Linked DNA regions of Homo sapiens: region 1 is linked to region 2. The links are contacts of gene promoters, found by promoter capture Hi-C in blood cells and fetal thymus (Javierre and others, 2016). All regions are on one chromosome and are shown on one strand. The core of a region is centred on a gene start or on the middle of the fragment in contact, and the rest is flanking DNA. Distances in the headings are between cores, read along the strand shown.

Region 1 (2,700 bases), core at 105-2,604, 520 kb after region 2:
TGAGTTGTTTTCACCTTTTGGCTACTGTGAATAATGTTGCTGTGAACACGAATGTACAAATACCTCTTCAAGATGTGCTTTCATTTCTTTTGGGTGTATACCCAGAAGTGGAATTAGTGGATCCTATGTTAATTGTTTTTGTAATTTTTGAGGAACTGCTATATTGCTTTCCACAGCAGCTATACTATCTTAGGTTTCCACCAACAGTGCACGAGAGCTCTAATTTTTCCACATTCTTGTCAAAACTTGTTATTTTGTGTTTTGTGTTTTTTTTTTTTATAGTAACTCTTCTAATGGGTATGAGGTGGTAGTTTTTTATTTTCATCCAGCTTTTATAGTTGTTCTTCCAGGGGCGTTGGTCTTACAAAAGCTTTTCTTTCAGTACTAAAGGTGGAATAACATTTTGAGGTAGATGTTATTTTACAGATGAGGCAACTGAGACAGATACTAAGGTCACACCTAGTAAATGGCAGACAAGACTGAAACAGAGGCTATTTGGTTCTTGAATCAGTGCTCTTAACCACTGAATTGTATTGCTTCTCTAATACAGGTCTTCTTTCCTGAAAGATAGTCTTATAAATTCATTGCTCTAAGACCTCAAAGTGTGATTAACTGTTTTTTTTCCCTCTGACCTCTAGATTATTAAATTTGAAGTAGAGAACAGTGTTTTTATTTTATGATTTATTGCAGTTTACACAACTTTAGAGAAACATGGGTTTGATTTGTCCAATATCTTGGTAGACAATTCTTAAATGGAAATTATTTTTAAATAAAAAATTTTCACAACTGTGTTTTTCTTGTTAAAATTTTTCAGACCCCTGAGAAGGATTGTTTTTTTGAGACGGTGTCTCACGCTGTCACCCAGGCTGGAGTGCAGTGGCAGGATCTTGACTCACTGCAAGCTCCGCCTCCCGGGTTCATATCATTCTCCTGCCTCAGCCTCCCAAGTAGCTGGGCTACAGGCTCCCGCCACCACGCCTGGCTAATTTTTTTGTATTTTTTAGTAGAGATGGGGTTTCACTGTGTTAGCCAGGATGGTCTCGATCTCCTGACCTCATGATCCGCCCGCCTCGGCCTCCCAAGAAAGATTTTAAGAAAATTTTTACTGTGGTGGAAACTCTGAGCTTTTTAGTAGTGGCTAAGTCCACCAGGTTTTTTGACACCATATCATATGCTTCTCTACCAAATTTATCAGTAATATTTTTATATCTAGAAATGTTTATCTGTACAATTTACTAATTCATATGTTACTGGTGCTGTTTTAGAAGTGTAGTCAGTTACTGGTATCATGGAAAGTATTGAGAAAGTTCTTTAAACTTCGATCTAATTATAATTAGACTTTTTTTCCCCCACTATGATTCTGCAGTAGAAACTTTTTACTACTTTTCTGCTCATTTAAAATTTTTCTATTTCTGTCTTCATTGTGTTAAACCTTTTTAAATCTGTATTTATTTCATGATTTGAAAGTGAACTCTGAAAATATTTTATTACTTGTTAATAGAGGATTACCTTAGTGATTAAATTTGGTAAGGCAAGTTCTAACATGTTCTGACAGACTTGTCATAGAGTTATTTGCCTCTTTTTTTTTTTTTTTTAATTTTAAATGTGAGTTTAACTTTTCAGGGTTTATCTCTAGCTTACTAGCAGAATAAGTATTTAATATTTATAAAGATTTTTTTAACCCTGTTTACATTTGTCTTTTCGTATTCTCTTTTACAGTAGTAGACAAAAACAGTTACAGATGTTCTTAGTATGAGGATAAGAAACTGAAAGAAGAACTATTTAAGAGTTTGATTAACCAGCTTGACAGTTAGCTTAAAAGACCAACTTTCACAGCAATTCACACATTGTTAAACCTTTTTTTTTTTTCCTAAATAAATAGCTACTGCTGGCCATATGTGGGACCAGGCAGAGGATAGATGAATAAGTACTAATAAATAACTATCCTTGGTCTATTAGGAGTAGTAGTAAAAGTACTGAACTACTTTGAGAGGCCGAGGCGGGTCAGGAGTTAGAGACCAGCCTGGCCCAACATGGTGAAACCCCAACTCTACTGAAAATACAAAAATTAGCCGGGCATGGTGGCACATACCTGTAATCCCAGCTACTAGCGGGGCTGAGGCAGGAGGATCACTTGAACCTGGGAGGCGGAAGTTGCAGTGAACCGAGATCGTGCCACTGCACTCCAGCCTGGGCAACAGAGCGAGACTCTGTCTCAAAAAAAAAAAAAAAGAAGTATGAAACTACTGGACTTTAAAGCAAACATGTTATTAAAAGCTCCCTTAAACTTTGTAATAGAACCAGAGGACTTTTGTATTTATATTTATACTAAGCTTTCAGAGTTGAATGTGACCCAAAGGTTAGTTTTAGAATTTGTTCTCAAACACCTGTTTACTCATAGTTACAAATGAAACATTAGATAGGAATGATAAAATAACAATTTTTAAGTTGTTTCTTTCCTTGGGTGCACCATTGATTTTGCCTAGAACCCATTTATCCTAGCTTGCTTTTCTGTAACATAATGACTATTAAAAATATTTACTAAACTTTTTCTTGCAGGTAAATTAAGTAGTAAGAGTTAAGTTGTTTTTTGGACTTAATTTTCACATTTGTTTTTATTTTAACTTTTTATTTGATTTGTTTGTAATGCCACTCCCTGAGTAATGAAACTATTTAGCGCACTTTAAGAGACACCCCTTG
Region 2 (2,700 bases), core at 166-2,665:
ACTTCCCAAATCTGCCAGAGCCTCTTACCCTCTTACGCCTGTTATGATTTCTAGAATGTGCTGAAATGATCCCCAAACAGCATCTCTGGCTAATTGAATCCTGGCTAACAAAGAGCTGACTAAAGTGCATTTATCAATTGCTTAAGAATTCTTTATACCCAAATGTGACCTTGTGTTATAACTATCTATCATTGGCTTTAGAAAGTGGCAGGGTCATGGATCCATAAAAAGCTGTTAAGAAAAAACCAGACCACTTGGAAAGGCTGTCCCAGATCTCTCCAGACCAGTATCCAGGGGCCAGAACTTCTCTGCCCCCCATCCAGTCCAACACTGAATTGCAGAACCACCCTGGGTATGACCCAGGAAGAGACTTCTTAGAAGGCTTTCATCAGATACCTATCTAGAGGCAAAGTGCAGGCTAGATGGGTATGGGCAAGAGAAGAGCAGAGACAGCATAACTGTGAAATCCACCCCCGACCTGACCACCCTACATAGTAACCCTGCCAGTTGGTTCTTGCCTACTCATCCTAATGCCACCCAAAGTCTCTTACCCCCAGAACGCTGATTTATTGGTTTTGAGTTCGTGTTAGTAGCTTAAACTGTCTCCTTGATTTCTCTGTATTTGTTTATTTGTTCGCTTGGTTACTTGCTGTCTCCCACCCCTACCCCGAAAAAACCTATCAGCTCTACACAGCCTTAAAGTGTAGTTGCTAAGTTCCTCTCCGTATCCTCAGTTTCCAGAACAGTGTGAGCTGGCATATAGTAGGCGCTTAATAAATACTCATTGAAGGAGTGAATGAATGGGGAAGCTTATTCCAAGGCCCTGAACATGGACTTCTGGCAAGGGAGCCTTCCAAACGCTGGCTTGGGCGATGCTGCTGGGATCCCAGCCACCAGATCTTTAATAAGCCTCTGACCCCTTCCCGAGGGTGGAAGGGCGAACCGAGCTTGGCCCCCACCCACTAGCCGGACCCAGAAAATAGAAGTCTAAACGGCAAATGCATCCAGGGCTCCAACTCTCCCAGCAACCTCCAAATGAGGCTGACGGCCTTGGACAGGCGACGGCCTTGGACAGGCCCCGCCCGGAGCCCCTCGGCGGCCGCCCCCCGCCCTCCCCCGCAGCCTGCAGTTCCCCCGGGCGGCGTGGACAGCCCCGGCCGGCCAGCTGAGCCCGTGTGGGCGGCGCGGGCAGGAGCCGCCCCACACGCGTCCCGCGACGCCCGCTCCAGATGCGCCGCTGCAGGGCCCGGCCGCCAGCCGAGTTGGCCGCGCGCGCCCGGGGGAGCGCAGAGTTTGGAAAGTCTTCGAGAAGCTTCAGAGGAGGGAAGGGGGTGGGAAGAGTGGGGGTGCAAGAGAGAAAAACCCGCCTCTTGCGAGTTGAGCGAGGAAGAGGGGGGGGAAGGCTCCGAGTTCCGCTTCCTGAACGGCGGGTGGATAGAGAAGGTTGGCGCGGGGAAGACCGGCGGGAGGCGCGCCCCGGGCCCGCGGCGCGATTGGCGTGACCGGCGATGGCCGGTGAGCGGACCCGCAGGTTCACCCGGAGCCTGTTGAGACCTGGGCAGGCGGCCGAGCTCCGGCACAGCGCCGCGTCCGCCGCCGCGGTGGCAGTCAGCAGCCGGCAGCAGCAGCGGGTGAGTGCGGCGCGTCCTCCGCGCCTTCCCGCGCGCCCCAGGCGCCCGGGGGGAACGGAGCCCAGCTTCCCCAAAAGCTCGGCGGGCCCAGGTCCCCGCAGCTCACGGGTCCTCTCCTCCGCACTCCCTCCCCCGCCGCCTCTGCGGGCTCCCCCGGCGCCACCTCAGCGAGGCAGCGCCACCGACGCGTAAGGACCGGGGGCGCGTTTGTGCACGCGGGACGCTCAGAGGAGCAGCTGCGTGGGTAGCAGAAGCGCAGCGTGGGAGAGGATGTGCAGGGGCTTTAATGGGGCGCGAGGGGGCCGGAATGCACCGCCAGTCACACTGGTGCTAAGTGATACGAGTGCCAGAGACCCCGGGTGGGGTGGGGGGATCTACAGAACAGAACCCCTGAGTCCGGAGGTCTGCGCGTCCCTCTCACCCTCCAGTAAACAGACCAGTGCGCTGAGAGAGAGGGATGCAGTCCGTGGTCCTCGCCCTGGTTAGAGCTGGGGCCCCCCGACGTTAACTATCGCAGAAATAGATGTACTTGGAACAGCCCTCCCACCGCAGGGTAAAAACCCACAAACCACTTAATACTCCTCCAGAAAGGGCTGAGGAACACAGGCTGGAGGAGACGTGGGTCATTAGGTCTCCAGCGGTTTCTGATATTTTTCTAAGATGTTTCGCGGGGTTCTCCCACCAGCAATGCTTTACTGGTTACTTCCTTATTGAAACGGCTTCTAAGTGCTGGGTGATTTCCGCGGGAAGTCCCTGGGGCAGCAGCCAGCATCTGATGCTAGGATCCTATCCATACCAACCCAGATGTTCCTGCGTTGCAGTAGGTCCACACTGCCGGGGAGAGGTGGCAAGAGACAAATCAACTCTAGTGGAAACGGGAAGCGAGTGGGAACAACAGCCTCACAGCAAGACCGGGGCTCAGCAGCCGCGCTCTTGGCCTGCGTTTGGTGGACCGGAATCCGGGTTGTGTGTTTCATTTTCTTTTTTGCCAGAAAATATCATTAGGAACTAAACGGCTCTTTTTAAGAGTGTGAAAGTGTTACTCTTGCCAGTCACCAATGAGGAGGGC

Evidence for each region. Contacts are between HindIII fragments. The CHiCAGO score rates a contact against its expected background, and 5 or more counts as called.
Region 1: a fragment that was not itself captured here is called in contact with the fragment with the promoter of DOCK10 in region 2 in 1 of 17 cell types (activated CD4 T cells); the score reaches 5.1 in activated CD4 T cells.

Annotation. Positions count from the first base shown.
Region 1 is chr2:224,520,966-224,523,665 of GRCh38, reverse strand. All of the region lies in intron 3 of CUL3 (cullin 3), which reads left to right. Among named protein-coding and RNA genes, the nearest start is that of CUL3, 63 kb to the left of the region's middle. RefSeq lists a silencer at 1,939-2,008. The HindIII fragment of the contact is 1,963 bases long and covers 373-2,335 here.
Region 2 is chr2:225,041,183-225,043,882 of GRCh38, reverse strand. DOCK10 (dedicator of cytokinesis 10) reads left to right here and starts at 1,415. Exons shown (of 56, transcript NM_014689.3): 1 at 1,415-1,631. The coding sequence starts at 1,509. RefSeq lists silencers at 1,019-1,388, 1,579-1,818 and an enhancer at 2,369-2,700. The HindIII fragment of the contact is 1,396 bases long and covers 1,315-2,700 here.